Regions from separate parts of the Homo sapiens genome. Here regions 1, 2, 3, 4 and 6 are each linked to region 5. Evidence: promoter capture Hi-C in human tissues and cell types (Jung and others, 2019). All regions are on one chromosome and are shown on one strand. The core of a region is centred on a gene start or on the middle of the fragment in contact, and the rest is flanking DNA. Distances in the headings are between cores, read along the strand shown.

The links. Contacts are between HindIII fragments. The study calls those that stand out against the background at their distance.
Region 1: a fragment that was not itself captured here is called in contact with the fragment with the promoter of PTPN9 in region 5 in 1 of the 25 tissues and cell types used here (stomach).
Region 2: a fragment that was not itself captured here is called in contact with the fragment with the promoter of PTPN9 in region 5 in 2 of the 25 tissues and cell types used here (IMR-90 fibroblasts and aorta).
Region 3: a fragment that was not itself captured here is called in contact with the fragment with the promoter of PTPN9 in region 5 in 3 of the 25 tissues and cell types used here (H1 embryonic stem cells, adrenal gland and hippocampus).
Region 4: a fragment that was not itself captured here is called in contact with the fragment with the promoter of PTPN9 in region 5 in 1 of the 25 tissues and cell types used here (IMR-90 fibroblasts).
Region 6: a contact is called between a fragment that was not itself captured here and the fragment with the promoter of PTPN9 in region 5, in 3 of the 25 tissues and cell types used here (adrenal gland, pancreas and stomach).

The regions. Positions count from the first base shown.
Region 1 is chr15:75,384,932-75,387,631 of GRCh38, forward strand. All of the region lies in intron 16 of SIN3A (SIN3 transcription regulator family member A), which reads right to left. Among named protein-coding and RNA genes, the nearest start is that of MAN2C1, 18 kb to the left of the region's middle. The HindIII fragment of the contact is 5,935 bases long and covers 1-2,700 here.
Region 2 is chr15:75,758,248-75,760,970 of GRCh38, forward strand. LOC101929408 (a long non-coding RNA gene) reads left to right here and starts at 295. Exons shown (of 4, transcript XR_932487.3): 1 at 295-380. The HindIII fragment of the contact is 5,413 bases long and covers 1-2,723 here.
Region 3 is chr15:75,414,756-75,417,474 of GRCh38, forward strand. The region is part of intron 3 of SIN3A (SIN3 transcription regulator family member A); the gene reads right to left. Among named protein-coding and RNA genes, the nearest start is that of SIN3A, 36 kb to the right of the region's middle. The HindIII fragment of the contact is 5,110 bases long and covers 1-2,719 here.
Region 4 is chr15:75,799,133-75,801,832 of GRCh38, forward strand. No RefSeq gene overlaps it. Among named protein-coding and RNA genes, the nearest start is that of MIR4313, 38 kb to the left of the region's middle. The HindIII fragment of the contact is 8,210 bases long and covers 1-2,700 here.
Region 5 is chr15:75,578,000-75,580,699 of GRCh38, forward strand. It overlaps PTPN9 (protein tyrosine phosphatase non-receptor type 9), which reads right to left and starts at 1,316. Exons shown (of 13, transcript NM_002833.4): 1 at 715-1,316. The coding sequence starts at 777. RefSeq lists silencers at 524-923, 1,184-1,673 and an enhancer at 883-1,481. The HindIII fragment of the contact is 16,601 bases long and covers 1-2,700 here.
Region 6 is chr15:75,432,464-75,435,163 of GRCh38, forward strand. All of the region lies in intron 1 of SIN3A (SIN3 transcription regulator family member A), which reads right to left. Among named protein-coding and RNA genes, the nearest start is that of SIN3A, 18 kb to the right of the region's middle. The HindIII fragment of the contact is 8,922 bases long and covers 1-2,700 here.

The DNA of each region.
Region 1 (2,700 bases), core at 167-2,666, 190 kb before region 5:
GGGAGGCCGAGGTGGGCCAATCACCTGAGGTCAGGTGTTCAAAACCAGCCTGGCTAACATGGCGAAACCCCATCTCTACTAAAAATACACAAATAGCCGGGCGTGGTGGCAGGAGCCTGTAATCCCAGCTACTTGGGAGGCTGGGGCAGGAGAATCGCTTGAACCTGGGAGATGGAGGTTGCAGTGAGCCGAGACTGCACCACTGCAAAGCTCACCGTGAGCTGGGGTGAGGAAGGGAGCCTTGGAGAATCATGAATGCAGTATCTATGTCTATATTCCCAGGCCAACTACAAAGCCTGAAACTCATTAAGTATTTAAGAAATAGCTGCTGAATTATTGCCCAGGGGTGCTCAGCTGAAGAAGGAGGGTTGGGACTAAAAGTCAAGGTTCCTGACTCCTAGCCCAATACTTTTCCAAACACATCACCTATTTTTCTGTATCTGATAGAAAGTATAGGGCTTAAGTTGTACATAAAGTTAACTCACTTTCCATACAGGCCAATCATGATTGACTATCAGTAGCTTTTGTGACAATCTTAGGAAACTAATGACTAGAAAGTTGAACGTTTCAGAGTTCCCATTCTCATGTCATGCTATTTCTATTTTGAAATAAAAATCCTTCCAAATGAAACTTTATCATCAAAATGACAGAAGTGAAAAATAGATACAAGAAGAAAGCAAAACGTTAATTTCAATATTGATTTGTCTGTTTAAAAAACTTTAAGATGATCATAACCACCAAGCCATTCTATTTTTAGGAAGACACATTCTTTTTAAGTGTTAGGAACCATGATAACTATTTATTCTTAAGTCCTAAATGACCAGTATGTGTATTAGTAGATAACTGGACACAGTGAAAGGTCAGAACGGTGACTGAGTGTGGCAGAAAGGGCAGTATCTCCAGCAACTACAGATGGATAAATAAATCACAATGAGTCCAGATAAAGGATTCTGATACAACCATTAAAATAATGCTTATGAGTACCTGATATCATGAGGAAGATTAAGATACAGTGTTTTAGGAGAAAAAAGAAAAGGTGGAAAAAAACAGATGGAAAGCATGACTTCAATCATACATACAGATGCTTCCACTTTCTACTTTCTTTTTGAGACAGAGTCTCGCTCTGTCGCCCAGGCTGGAGTGCAGTGGCATCGTGATCTTGGCTCAGTGCAGCCTCAACTTCCTGGGCTCAAGCAACCCTCCCATACCTCAGCCTCTTAAGTAGCTGGGTCTACAGGCATGTGCCACCACGCCCAGCTAACTTTTTTGTATTTTCAGAAGAGACGGGGTTTTGCCATGTTGCCCAGTCTGATCTCAAACTTCTGAGCTCAAGTGATCCACCCGCCTTGGCCTCCCAAACTGCTGGGATTACAGGCGTGAGCCACCGCCTCTACTTTATACTTTCTTGTTGAAGTAGACTGTATTACTGATTCCCCACCCATACTCTCTTTTTGGATATCTGGCCCCTCCTCGAGTCTTCAGAAAAGACAGCACTACAAATCCAGAGACAGCTACGGAACTCCCACCCCCACTGCTAAGCAGATCAGATTCTCTATCTTGCTAATTGGAGATGACAGAGAGGGTGTTCAATAGATTTTTTGAGGAGGAGCATCTGTATGGAAAGGTCTAGTAACACTGGGACCAGGGGTACTGGGAGGGCAAGCCAAAGCCTCAGAGGCTGGAGGAGCCTGGAGCACATGCCGTATGTTCATCTGCAGAGCAAAGCACAAGCATGGAGCAGAAGTCCAGAGTGAAGGCATGCAGGAGAGAAAAATCACCTCCCAGCCCAATCCTTCCATGGTGTGGTCCTATTTTGAGTTCTGTACTTGGATGTCTGTGAGGTTGCCTATTGTATTCTTAATACAAATCCCTCTTAAGCCAGCCTACAATAGGTAAGATAAATGTAATGGCTTCACTTGGCTGGAATGCAGTGGTGCAATCACGGCTCACTGCAGCCTCAACTTCCTGGGTTCAGATGATCCTCCCACCTTAGCCTCCTGAGTAGCTGGGACTACAGGCATGTGCCACCATGCCCAGCTAATTTTTTGTATTTTTAATACAAATAGTGTTTCCCCATGTTGCCCAGGCTGGTCTCCAACTCCTGGACTCAATATATCTGCCCGCCTTGGACTCCCAAAGTGCTGGTATTAGAGGCATGAGCCACCATGACCAGCCTTGACTTTGAAATATATGTTGTACATTCAGTCAGCAGTGGAATCTGAGGGAACACCAAATATGAGGAGAATGAGAGAAGAGATACCTCCAGTTAAAGGAGTTGAGAAGCTTGAAAATGTTTTAAAAAGTCACTGTAGGCTGGGCACAGTGGCTCATGCCCGTAATCGCAGCGCTTTGGGAGGCTGAAGTAGGTGAATTGCTTGAGCCCATAAGTTTGAGGCCAGCCTGGACAACATGGCAAAACTCCATCTCTACAAAAAATACAATAAATTAGCCGGTGTGGTGGCCCCTTTGGTCCCAGCTACTTGGGAGGCTGAGGTAGGAGGTCAAGGCTACAGTGAGCTGATCACACCACTGCACTCCAGCCTGGGCAATAGAGTGAGACCCTGGGTTGGAAAAAAAAAAAAAAAAAAAGTCACTGTTTTGGGGTTTTCTGGATGAAACCTGTTTCCATTAAAAAAAAAAAAAAAAAGCGGGGGGTGGGTGGAGATAGTATTTATTACTGATTCAAAATCATAACCAGAT
Region 2 (2,723 bases), core at 79-2,578, 180 kb after region 5:
AATGCTATTCGCTTAACAGTGGAAAACATGGCAATGACCTGAATCCCCCTGGCTCCCGGGATCCTACCCCCTTAAGTTAAACAAATGAAATAACTTCCACTGTCTTTCCTAATGTCTTAATTCGGTCCTCAGTTAAACTGGCGGTGGGCGCTGCTTTTTTTCCAGGGAAGGATTCTGGAAGACATAGGAGGAGACGCCAGCATTTCGCCCTCCAGCACCTCCTGCGGGCTGTGGTCCGCTTCCGGCCTCACTCGAGCAGACCCCGCCCTCCCAGAGGCCGTTTGTCCAAGTCACGTGATCGTCGAATCTGTTGACCTGGCGCCACCGGAAAAAGAAATTCCCGGGCCCTGGCTTCTTGGCCTGATGGTGAGGCACCAGAGGTGAAGCGAGGCATGGGCTGCTGGAGCGGGAATGAGGGGGCGACAGTGGCTCCGGAAACGGGGGGAGGGTGTCTTCACTGGCCTCTCCGCAAACACAGTGTGTGCGGGTGTGAGGGCTGCAGGTCTGGTAGAGAAGAGTCCACCGCCATCCCGCTCCTGAGACGGGGGCAGGAGTGGGGGGCAGGAGTGGGGGGGCGGGTAAGACAGAGCAGGCCGGCCGGCTTGTGGAGGGCGAGGCAGGCAGATCCCTTGAGCTCAGGAGTTTGAGACCAGACTGGGCAACATGGCAAAACCCCATCTCTACTAAAAATACAAAAAATTAGCTGGGCATGGTGGCACATGCCTGTAGTCCCAGGTAGTTAGGAGGCTAGGGTGGGAGCACTGCTTGAGCCCAGGAAGTAGAGGCTGCAGTGAGCCGAGATCATGATGTCACTGCACTCCAGCCTGGGCAACAGAGTGGGACCCTGTCTCAAAAAATAAAAATAAAGTGGAAGCATCAGTATGCATGATTGAAGTCATGCTTTCCATCTATTTTTTTCCACCTTCCCTTTTTTCTGTCTAAAACATTGTATCTTAAGCTTTTGCCTATGTTATCAAGTACTCATAAGCATTATTTGAATGGTTGTATCATAATCCATTATCTGGACTCATTGTCATTTATCCATCTGCAGTTGCTGGAGATACTGCCCTTTCTGCCACACTCAGTCACCCTTCTGACCTTGCACTGTGTCCAGTTATCTACTAATACCCATACTGGTCATTTAGGACTTAAGAATAGTTATCATAGTTTTTAACATTCCAAAAAGAATGTGTCTTCCTAAAAATAGAATGGCTTGGTGGTTATACTTTTAAAGCAAAATAGACAAAGCCATGTTGAAATTAATGTTTTATTTTCTTCTTGTATCTATTTTCACTTCTCTTGTCATTTTGATGGATAAAGTTTCATTTGGAAGGATTTTTATTTCAAAACAGAAATAGCATATGACATGAGAAGGGGAACTCTGAAAGGTTCAACTTCCTAGTTTACTAAGTTTGTCACAAAAGCTACTGATAGTCAATCATGATTGGCCTGTATTGAAAGTGAGTTAACATTATGTACAACTTAAGCACTATACTTTCTATCCGATACAGAAAAATAGGTGGTGTGTTTGGAAAAGTATTGGGCTAGGAGTCAGGAAGCTTGATTGTTAGTCTCAACCCTGCTTCTTGAGCTGAGCACCCCTAGGCAATAATTCAGCAGCTATTTCTTAAATACCTAAATGAATTTCAGGCTTTGTGGTTGGGCTGGGAATATAGACATAGATACTGCATTCATGATTCTCCAAGCCTCCCTTCTTCACCCCGGCTCACAGTGAGCTTTCTTATGCATTGTGTAAATTTGTCTCCTAACAGGCCCCAACTCTGTCTCCAACCTCCTTCCCAGGGCAGTTGTGAGGATCAGATGAGGGAGAATATGTGTGAAAGCAAATTGTAAATTATTTTAAAATGCAATAAAAATATGATCCATGGAAAATTATTTAAAGATCCTTATTAAAATTATTAAAGATCCTTAGAATTTTAAATAAACAGTACATTAGGCCGGGCATTGTGGCTTAGGAGAGCGCTGGGTCAAATCAGTCCCCTCCAGCTACGCATTGCCTGGAGCTGCTCTCCAAGGACCCCTCAGCCACAGAAGGCGCTGGTCCTCCTACAGTGCTGCCCCACCCCCACCACCACAGCCTCCTGGGGGTGCAGTCAGGGGTGCCCTCCTTCAGGCTCTGCCCCTGCACCCACTCCTACACAACTACTCTCCCTGCCGGCAGCCCCAGAGACCAGATTGGTTTGGGCCTCTGCCTCCGCAGGCCCGAACCACCATCTCTTCTGCTCCCCAGAAAGCCAGCTCCCAGCACACAGGCAGCGTTCCCTCTTCATTCCTCAACACAGAGGGCCCCTCACAACCCTCTCAGCAGATGGTAGAGCTCCCCACGCATCCTCTTAAAGAGGCTTCACCGTTGATGGCCACAAGCCCCACCATGACCTCCTCCCAGGGAGTGAATTTTCTTACATGTCTCCCACCAGAGCAGGGACAAAATAAAACATAAAAGCAGCAGCTGTTAAATTATCAGCAACATTTCCTACTAGGATCAACTCACGGAGTGGGCAGTGTATTCCATTAGGTGGATCAGTGCAGGGGTTAGCAAGCGTTTTCTGTAAAGGGCCGGATGGGAACTCTTTAAGGCTCTGCAGGCCACTGGGTCTCTGTCACCACCTACTCAAACCCTCCCCTGTAGCAAGAAAGCAGCCCTAGCAACATGTCAACAGATAAGCGTGGCCACATTCCCAGAAACCTTTCTTTATGGACAT
Region 3 (2,719 bases), core at 181-2,680, 160 kb before region 5:
AGGACACGTCTTCTCCACCAAAAAAAGTGAGGCTTCCCCAGGAGGTAATGTATAAACTGAGACCTAAAGATGACTATAAGCTAGCAAAAGTGAAGACCAGTGAAGAAAATCAAAAGCGGCAGCACGGGTAAAATCCTAGACAGGATACGATATGGGATATTTAGAAATCTGAAAACAGTTTAGTTTGGCTGGAGGATCTGTAGTGAAGAGGAAGGAAAAGTAACAAAATGAGACAGAAAAAAAAGCAGGATCTAGATTCTGAAAGGATTTGTAAATCTTGTGAAAAAGCAATTTAGATTTTTATCATCTGCATTTTCGTGTACGCAATTTGACTGCAGTGTTGAGAAAAAATTGGCACAAGAGCAGAAAAGATTGAAAGGAGGTAGGAAGACCAGGTATGCTACAGGAATAACTGGACAACTCATGTGAAAACAGTGGCTTGAATTATAGTACTGGCCCAGAACAACAGAGAGAACTGCATAGATAAAAAAGCTTTTTGGGTAGTAGAAGTGACAGGATTGGGGAACTGACTGAATAGAGGAGCTAAGGGAGAGCCAGCATTCAAAAGTGATCCGCCACGGAGCACTGAGGAAGAACAGTCAAGAGTGACTCTCGGACCGATCAAAGCCCACATGCCACTGCATCCCGCACTCAGCGCTTACATCCTTCCACATCACCACCACACCCAAGAGAAAGCCTGAAGGGGATGCTAAAGGAGATAGAGCCAAGGTGAAGAACAACCCAGAGAAGATCCGCAAGGTTGTATGCTAAACCTGCTCCTCCAAAGCCAGAGCCCAACCCTAAAAAGGATGCAGGCTGGGCGCAGTGGCTGACACCTGCAATCCCAGCACTTTCAGAGGCAGAGGTGGGAGGATCATCTGAGGTCAGGAGTTCGAGACCAGCCTGACCAACACGGAGAAACCCATCTCTACTAAAAATACAAAAATTAGCCAGGCATGGTGGCGCATGTCTGTAATGCCAGCTACTCGGGAGGCTGAGGCAGGGGAATCACTTGAACCCAGGAGGCGGAGGTTGCGGTGAGTCGAGATCATGCCATTGCACACCAGCCTGGGCAACAAGAGTGAAACTCGGTCTCAGGAAAAAAAAAAAAAAAAAAAAAGTCCCCTGCAAAGGAGAGAGAGGAGGTACCCAAAGGGAAAAAGGAAAATGCTGACACTGGCAGGGAGGGGAATAACCTTGCAGGAAATGGAGATGCCAAAACAGACCAGGCACAGAAAGCTGAAGGTGCTAGAGATGCCAAGTGAAACATGTGCATTTTTGGTAACTGTGTACTTCTGGTGACTGTAAAGTTTGAACTATAAAGTTATGAAGTTTGTAAATTTTGAAATACCATTGTTTAAATCAAGCTTTATAAAAATGCAGAATTTTGTTTTGCTTTTTCTAAAGCAGTGTTGTTATCGCACACAGAACACTTCATTGTTGTTTTGGTGGGAAGGATCACAGGTCACTAATAGAATGTCTTTGAAGCTGGACTGACGTGGGGAAAACACCTTTCCCTTCTAGTTTTGAGAGACTTCCTCTTGGCTTATAGAAGAAATTCCCTGACTTTATTTACTTATTTATTTAGAGACAGAGTTTTGCTATTGTTGCCCAGGCTGGAGTGCAGTGGTGCGATCTTGGCTCACTGTAACCTCTGCCTCCGGGGTTCAAGCGATTCTCTTGCCTCAGCCTCCTGAGTAGCTGGGGTTACAGGCACCCGCCAGCATGCCTGGCTAATTTTTGTATTTTTAGTACAGACAGGATTTCACCACATTGGCCAGGCTGGTCTCAAACTCCTGACCACAAGTGATCTGCCAGCCTCAGCCTCCCAAAGTCCTGGGATTACAGGCGTGAGCCACCACACCCAGCCTAGATTCCCTGACTTTTAACACACATGGCCACCTTGGCACAAACACCTTGTGGGATGGAAAAACAAATTCATTTTTACATCCTGTTCTCCCTCCCCACCTTCACAGACCTAACTCCCTTTTACCCAGACACCTGTTGGGACCTAACCCCCAATAACTGGTTACCAATATGTCAGGCAGTCAAACTTTCCAGTGATGCCACTGAAATGGCAGCCCTCAAAAGAGCAGTGGTTGCTTTTTCTAGACTGTGGATCTTCAGATAAGTCCTGCCATTTTCATTTCACTTCCTGAAAGTCAGGGTTGGCTTGTGAAAAGTTGTTAAACAACATGCTAAATGTGAAGTGTCAACCTTCACTCTAAACTTTCCCTGTTCAGAGCATCAAATGAGACTTCACTGGGTTTTATAGTGGCTTTTTTTTTTTTGGTAGCTCATTGTTAAGGATTGTCCATGTTCTGCCTGAAATACCATGACTGTTTTTGGAAAGTATCTTTAAAGCTGGATACAGTTTGGCTGGGGGAGAAAAAAAACTGACCTATCACAAAGAAGAACAGGTTGGAAAGGCTAAGCTATGAGTCTGATTTAGGACAGAGACACCCAAAAGAAATCCCCACTAGGTGTTTCCTATTTACTCTGAGATACGTTAAGTTTTATTTTGGTAGTTTAACTGAAGCCTAAATATTTAAAATTATACAAAATATCAGGTTTAAGAAATTTCAGAAATAAACATTTGATGTGATTTAAGCCAGTCTTTTTCTTTTTTTTTTTTTTGAGATGGGAGTCTCATTTTGTCTCCCAGGCTAGAGTGCAATGGCGCAATCTCGGGTCACTGCAACTTCTGCCTCCTGGGTTC
Region 4 (2,700 bases), core at 38-2,537, 220 kb after region 5:
GTGACAAAGAATTAATTAGTTCTTATATAAAGAAATATAGGACTTTAGCAGCAGGATAAAACTGGAATATAATTTCTTCTAGAATCCTGATAATCTTTGTGAGAAAACTGTTGGTCATATATGTTAATTGCCAAAACTTGCAGGACCCTATGCAATAGAACTAGCAAATAAAACCATCTTTCTGAAACTCACTATGCTACAAGCAGCATTCAACTCTTTCTCAACCAAGATTTCACTAACCTATCTCCAGCTTCCAGATGGTGAGGGAAAGTGTGATGAGATTTTATGATAAATTGTGCCTGTCTCTGAGTCCATCTCCTTCTATTGAAGAGAAGGAAAATGAGGTGAGCACATTACAGCCCTGCTGACAAAAGTCACAAGATAAGCAAATAATTATTACTTAAAACCAGGGAGTCCTATAATTTATTCATGAATGCCACACATTCTATATTAGATCTTCCATTTCAATTTACTTGTATTATTTGAAGCTAATTTATAAGATTCAAATTATTCAGAAAATGCTCCCACGTAAATAGAAGAAAACACTTTAACCAGAGGAAGTATCATGCTACACAATATGGTGTGGTGGTGAAGGGTGCAGGCTCTAAAACCAGAAAACACAGGTTCAAGTCCTGGCCTTACCACCTTGGGAAAGTTACATGGTCTCTCTGTGCCTCCATTTCCCCATCTAAAATGTGGGGATGACAATAATAGTGTCTATTTCACAGAGCAGTTTTGAGGAAAATAATATATGTAAAGCACTGTGAACAGCAGTTAGTGCTATGTAAGTGTTTGCTCTAGTTATTTTAACATTTCAGATGATAAATATCTACCCTGTTATTCAGATGACAAGCGTCCCTAAGCTGATAACATGATGAAGAGCTTTTGGGTTTCTTAATTTCCATCAGTTTTGTGAGGGAAAAAATACCACATGAAGAAGAGCAACTGAAGCAGGCGTGAGGAGGAAACTTGGCTTAAGATTGGGGGGCTTGGGGTTATTAGGCTTTCATCTTCTAAAATGTCCTAAGCTCCATTGATAAGAAGACACTTAGTATCAATCCAGCTAAAAAGGAACAATAGACCCCACAAGACACTGAGTTAGAGACAAAAATAGCAGGGTAATAAATGAAATATGGAAAACTACACAACCAGAAAAATAAACAGCTACCAGTACCCAAAACGTGGTTAAATCTCACAGGATTATATTGAATGAAAGAAGCCAGCCACAAACGTGCACATACTGAATGGTCCCATTTATATGAAGCTAAAGAACAGGCGAAACTAATCCATGGTTGCAGAGGTCAGGATCCTGGTTAACTTTGAGGGGACAGCAACTGAGAAGGGGCAAGAGGGAGCCCTCTGTGCTGATGGGAACATTCTGTATCTTGAACTGAGTGGCGGTCACATAAGTGTGCACATATGTAAATAGTAAGGAGTTGTAGCTTAAGGTATAGGCACCTCGCTGAATGTAAGATACTGTCTTAGTCCATGTGTGCTGCTGTAACAAAATATTTGAGACTGGGTAATGTGTAAAGAACAAAAATGTATTTCTCACAGTTCTGGTGGGTGGGAAGTCCAAGATCAAAGCGCCAGCAGGTTTGTAGTCTAGTGAGGGCTGCTCTCTGCTTCCAAGATGGCACCTTAAATGCTGAGACCTCCAGAGGTGAGGAATGCTGTGTCCCAGCATGGTGGAAAGAACAGAAAAGCAAAAGAAGAAAACCGAGCTGGGTAGCTCCCTCAAGCCCTTTCATAAGGTCACTAATCCCATTCACGAGGGGGCTCCTCCTTACAGCTTAGTCATCTCCTAAAGACTCCACCTCTTAATACTATCACATTGGGGTTTAAGTTCCAACATGAATTTTGGAGGAGACACAATCATTCCAACCATAGCAAATATACTTTACTAAGAAAGAAAAAAACATAGTCTCTAAATATGATATTTTAAGAGTTTATATATTTAAAGCTCAATTTTCTGCTTGCTTACATACATATTTGTGACCATGAGTGTCATTCTTGGCTGAGAAACATTTCAGTAAATTTTAAAAAGTCTCACATTATCTATTAATATCTTATTCAGATAAGATCAAATTTCTAACCTACATTTTAGGTTGAGACAGAAACCCAGTCATTTGTTGCAATGTGAGAATGACAGAGAGATAGTAACTAGCAGAATCCAACTATAAAACTAAATTTAAGGGCACAATTCTCTACTAATCACTCCCCCAGACAAATCATTACTTGGATAGCAATGAATCAACTAAAAATGGAAGTGAGAAAAGTTCGAGTCCTTTTTGCGATGGATGGATGCTTATGAGACTATTAAGTGAAGGGGGTTCGGAAATAAGGGGATAAATGGCATACTAATTTGAGGTTGAATGGAGTAATGAGATGACCTTGGAAATATAAGAATCCTGCTTAATGGGGCTTGTCTACTTGCAATTCGATAAACTAATATACGTAAATTCAAGGAGATAAAGGACATGAGCACTCAGCACAAAATTACAGGAATAGATTTAGCAAAGAGGAACCAAAGTTGAGATAAGGGCCACTGTTCCAGGTCTGACATCTTTAATTCTTGAGTCATGGGGATGGTAAACCAGAGAACAGAGTCTTCCGACTGGAAGCTAAAACCAGCCTTTGGGGTGGGTTCAGAGAGCCTGTTCAGACTCAAGATGCGAAAACAGATGTTGCATGGTCGAA
Region 5 (2,700 bases), core at 66-2,565:
AAAACTAAAGGTCATAGGCTTTTAAGGAACAATAGAGCTCAATGTAAGCTTCAGAAAGATGGAGACAGTCAGATGAGACGAGGGTAGGGAAGCGCGGGTGAGGAGATGCGCCCCGTCTGGGATAGCTGAATAGGGGGGTCAAGGCCAGGGACTTTAGGAACACGAGAAGGGCTGGATCTTCCATAACCTGCCCAAGTGGGCCTGAGAAACCTAAGAGGCTCCTCTGAAAATCTAGGGCATCTATGCATCCAATACTCTCAGCCCTCTCCTCGGGAAGGGAGATAATCCCCACAGGAAGCACCCCCCAAACTGGGGCTTTTCCTGCCCTTCAAAAGCCACAAACCCTCACGGAAAACATTTACAAGGGAGTGGAAGGGCCGGGGGCAAGCAGCGGTTCTGCAAATCTCGGGAAGAAGGCCCCTGGATCCAAGGAACTTTGCCCCTGGAATAGGGGGTGGGGTGCGGAGGGCACCGTCTGAGGCTGGTAAGCCTCGGCGAAAGAAGCGGCGGGAACGGGAGTAGGGTCCCGTGGGTCCCCCGACGAGGGGGTGGCGGCCTGGGGCGCGGTCGCCGGTGAGGGAGGCCCGCGAGCCGGGCACGGGAGCGGGGGGCTGCGGCCCCGTGGCTGCAAAGAGCCGGCACTCGGGAGGCAGAGGCCGGCGTAGGCCTCGGGGGCCCGGACACACCCAACGCGGCGGCCTCGGGCCCGCTTACCTGCTCCTCCTCCGGGGTCAGCTCCGGCGCCATGTCGGGCCGGGGCGCGGTCGCGGGCTCCATCCCCCCGCCACCGCCGCCGGGCGGACAAAACTCGCTCGCGAGCGCGGGAGCCCGGCGCGCTCGGCCTCCGCTTCCGCGTCCCCGCGCCTCAGCAGCCCGGGGCCGGCTCGCGCATAGTGTGGCCGGCAGGGCCCGGCGCCTGCAGCGGCCGCAAACGCCGCTTCTGCTTCCTTAAGAAAAATCTCTCCGAACTGCCGCTCTCTTCCGGGAGGAAATCCTTTTTTATATTATTCGCTCCGTTCCTCACACTCCCCCTTATCTCCTGGGGAAGAAAAAGTGCAGGCGAAGAGCTAACAGCCACTCGGGATTTAAAAGGAAATAGGAAATCAGGAACTTTTAGAGCCGGGAGCGAAGGGTCGGCGGAAATTTCCCGAAGGCCGCCGACCCCCTCGGCGCCCCGCTTCCTCGGCCGCGCTCCCGCTCCTCCACAGCGCCACAGAGCTCGGGGCCGCCCAGCCGGGCCGTCCTCGCGGACGCTGGCCCTGCGACCTGCGCGGCTGCCTCAGCCAGGCTCCTCGCGGGCGGCCGCAGCGAAAGGGAGGGAGTGGAGAGGGAGCGAGGGAAACGCGCCCCCCTCCTGACTCACGGCCAACGCTGCGGCCGCCCCGCGGCCGCCCGAGCCCCCCGCGGCTCCATTGAGAAACTGAGCGTCTCATTCACAAGCTGGCGGCGAGGAGGGCCCGGCGGAGCGAGGACGCAGTCCGGGAGGGGGAGACAGAGAGGAGCCCGGGCGGGGGAGGGGACCGGGAGGGGGAGGGGACCCGGGCGGGGAGGGGACCCTAGCTGGACGGAAGGCAACTCGACTGCGGGAGGGAGAAAAAGGAAGAAAAGAGTATTTCGTGAGGCTCAGATCCTCGGAGGAGGAGGAGAATACGTTCGTTTGCAAATTATCTGCTGACTGGCACCTCTCCTGGGGTTAACTTGCCGCTGCCACCTACGCGTGAGAAACCCACAATCCTCAACTATTTGTCGCTTGCAGCCTGAAAGACCCTGGAAAGGTTGCCTGCCAGGCCAGGATGCTTAGGTGGAAGGAATCGCACCTGCCTCCCTCTCTCTCCCTCCTTACTGGCTGCACCCTGTAATTCATCTCCAGTGTCGCTAATTTTAATCCCCCATAGAAACGACATCAGACTCCGAACATCATTCAGGAATGACGCGGCCTTTGCAGACCTTTGATTTTCACTAGGGCAAGTGCAGCAAAGGGTTCAGGATTAGGGGTACAGTCTTGGAGTCATTTGGGGAGGAATGGGGCATAGAGAAGGCAAGGCTGGGTCTGGTACGTTGTTGCATTATTCCAAGCCAAAGATAAATATTCCAAAGGGACCCAAAGTCCACAACTAGTTCCAAGGCTGAAGCCCTGGAGCCAGTCCTGAGGGACCCAAAGGAGGGGCCTTCAGACAACAGGAAGGTGCTGTGAGTTGTGATGCTCCTATGATTTTTTTTTTATTTTTTTTTTTGAGACGGAGTCTCTGTGTCGCCCAGGCTGGAGTGCAGTGGCGCGATCTCGGCTCACTGCAACCTCCACCTCCCGGGGTCAAGCGATTCTCCTGCCTCAGCCTCCTGGGTAGCTGGGATTACAGGTGCGAGCCACCACGCCCGGCTAATTTTTGTATTTTTAGTAGAGACGGGGTTTCACCATGTTGGTCAGGCTGGTCTCGAACTCCTGACCTTGTGATCCGCCCGCCTCGGTCTTCCAAAGTGCTGGGATTACAGGCAGGCGTGAGCCACCGCGCGCCTGGCTTTTTTGTTTTTCTTTTTTTGAGACGGAGTCTCACTCTGTCACCCAGGCTGGAGTGCAGTGGCGCGATCTCGGCTCACTGCAAGCTCCCCCTCCCAGGTTCACGCCATTCTCCTGCCTCAGGCTCCCAAGTAGCTGGGACTACAGGCACCCGCCACCGCGCCCGGCTAATTTTTATTTTTATT
Region 6 (2,700 bases), core at 95-2,594, 150 kb before region 5:
ATCACCTAAGGTCGGGAGTTTGGGACCAGCCTGGCCAACATGGTGAAACCCTGTCTCCAGTAAAAATACAAAAATTAGCCAGGTGTGATGGCGCACACCTGTAAAACCTGCTACTTGGGAGGCTGAGGCATGAGAATCGCTAGAATCCAGGAGGCAGAGGTTGCATGAGGGGAGGTCCCACCACTGCACTCCAGCCTGGGCAACAGACTGAGACTCTGTCTCAAAAAAAAAAAAAAAAAAAAATTATAGAAATGTTATGATAGGGCAGCACTGGGTTTAAAAAACAAAAACTTCATAGGCTGGTCACAGTGGCTCACACCCGTAATCCCAGCACTTTGGAAGGCCGAGGTGGGTGGATCACCTGAAGTCAGGAGTTCGAGACCAGCCAGGCCAACATGGTGAAACCCAGTCTCTACTAAAAATACAAAATTAGCTGGGCATGATGGCACGCATCTGTAATCCCAGCTACTTGGGACGCTGAGACGGGAGAATCGCTTGAACCTGGGAGGCGGAGGTTGCAGTGAGCAAATTCGCACCACTGCACCCCAGGCTGGGGGACAGCGCGACTGTCTCAAAAAATAACAACAACAAAAAAAAACTTTATAAATAATAAGCCAAAATCAGATGTGAAGAGCACGGCACGACTATAGAAAAAACACTAGAGTACCTTTTAAGAACTGGATTCTGTTGGATGGGAGAATGTTTGAGGGCAAAAAATAAAAACAAACAAAAAAGAACTGGATTCTACTCCAAACTCTATCTACCATGAAGCTTTCTAATTTTGGCCCTGTTTTCAAACAGGGGCAAAAGGAGGGGATCAGCCTACATTAGTGATTTCCAAATGCTGGTTTATGAACCAGTCTATAAGGAAAAAGAAGATTGTAGTGAGCTTTTCATACATTAAGTATTACAGTACTATGGTTTATTCTGATATCATACTCTATCTTTTGGCTGTTAAAATATCGTTTCTTTTATTAAGTGATTGGGATTTCATATGGTACTTAACTTCATCCACCTCCAGAGTTTGCTTTCCATACCACCTCTACAACACTACAGAGGCTGAACTTTCTCTGAACCATACTTTATTCCTTTAACAATTACCACTCATAGGCCGGGCGTGGTGGCTCACGAGATCAGGAGATCGAGACCATCCTGGCTAACATGGTGAAACCCCGTCTCTACTAAAAATACAAAAAATTAGCCAGGCGTAGTGGCGGGCACCTGTAGTCCTAGCTACTCGGGAGGCTGAGGCAGGAGAATGGCGTGGACCGGGAGGCAGAGCTTGCAGTGAGCCGAGATCATGCCACTGCACTCCAGCCTGGGCGACAGAGCAAGACTCCATCTCAAAAACAACAACAACAAACAAACAAACAAACAATTACCACTCAAAGTTCTATTCCTAACTCTCTCTCAAATAAATTGCTTCCGCTCTAATCATACCTCCTGGTTTCAGGCCCTGATCATCCTTCACAACAACCTTATAAGCAAGGTGTTCTCTAATTTATGAATGAGGAAACTGAAAAACAAAGATTAAGTAAACTGCCCAAGGTTGCACAGCTAGTAAGAGGCAAAGCTGTGATATAAATCCAGGAAATCTGTCTCCAGAGCCTGGCTCTTAACTACTTCACTACCTTACCTCTCACAGAAGAGAAGAAGTGAAGGAAGAATCCCTTTACTTATTTAAGGCACACATGCAGGGAGCAAGTTCAGCTTTTTTTAACCTTTCACACACTTAGCTAACTCATCCTTCTTCAGCCTAAACCTAATAAAGCAGAAATGCTTTAGTAGCATTCATTCATTAAAAGCAAATGTTCAGTGAGTAGATATGAAGTTGGTAGATGATTTCAGCCCTTGCCCTCTAAAACCATATATAGCCTCACTAGTAATAAAAAACGTGTAAAGTAGGCCGGGCGCGGTGGCTCATGCCTGTAATCCCAGCGCTTTGGGAGGCCGAGGCAGGCGGATCACTTGAGGTCAGGAGTTCAAGACCAGACCGGCCAACATGGTGAAACCCTCCCTCTACTAAAAATACAAAAATTAGCCGGGTGTGGTTGTGGGCGCCTGTAATCCCAGCTACTCAGGAGGCTGAGGCACGAGAATCACTTGAACCTGGGAGGTGGAGGTTGCAGTGAGCCGAAATCGCGCCACTGCACTCCAGCCTGGGCAATAGAGTGGAACTGTCTCAAAAAAAAAAAAAATAAAAGGTCAGGCGCCGTGGCTCACACTTGCAATCCTAACACTTTGGTTCGCCGAGGCGAGTGGATCACCTGACGTCGGGAGTTTGAGACCAGCCTGATCAACATGGAGAAACTCTGTCTCTACTAAAAACACAAAATTAGCCGGGCATGGTGGTGCATGCCTGTAATCCCAGCTACTCGAGAGGCTGAGGCAGGAAAATCGCTTGAACCTGGGAGGCAGAGGCTGCAGTGAGCCGAGATCGCGCCACTGCACTCCAGCCTGGGCAACAAGAGCAAAACTCCGCCTCAAGAAAAAAAAAAGTAATTTACTCCAAAGCAATTTAAAAAAAAAAAAGATGACAGTGTGGGTAAGGATACAGGGAAACACTGATGGAGGAGGCTTTAATTGGTACAGCCTATTTAGCTGGCAACTTGTAGGTATTTATTAAAATTTTAAATGTGCATACCCATCCCATGCATATTATGGAAAACTATGTAAGAATCAGATCAAAGTTTATCCACG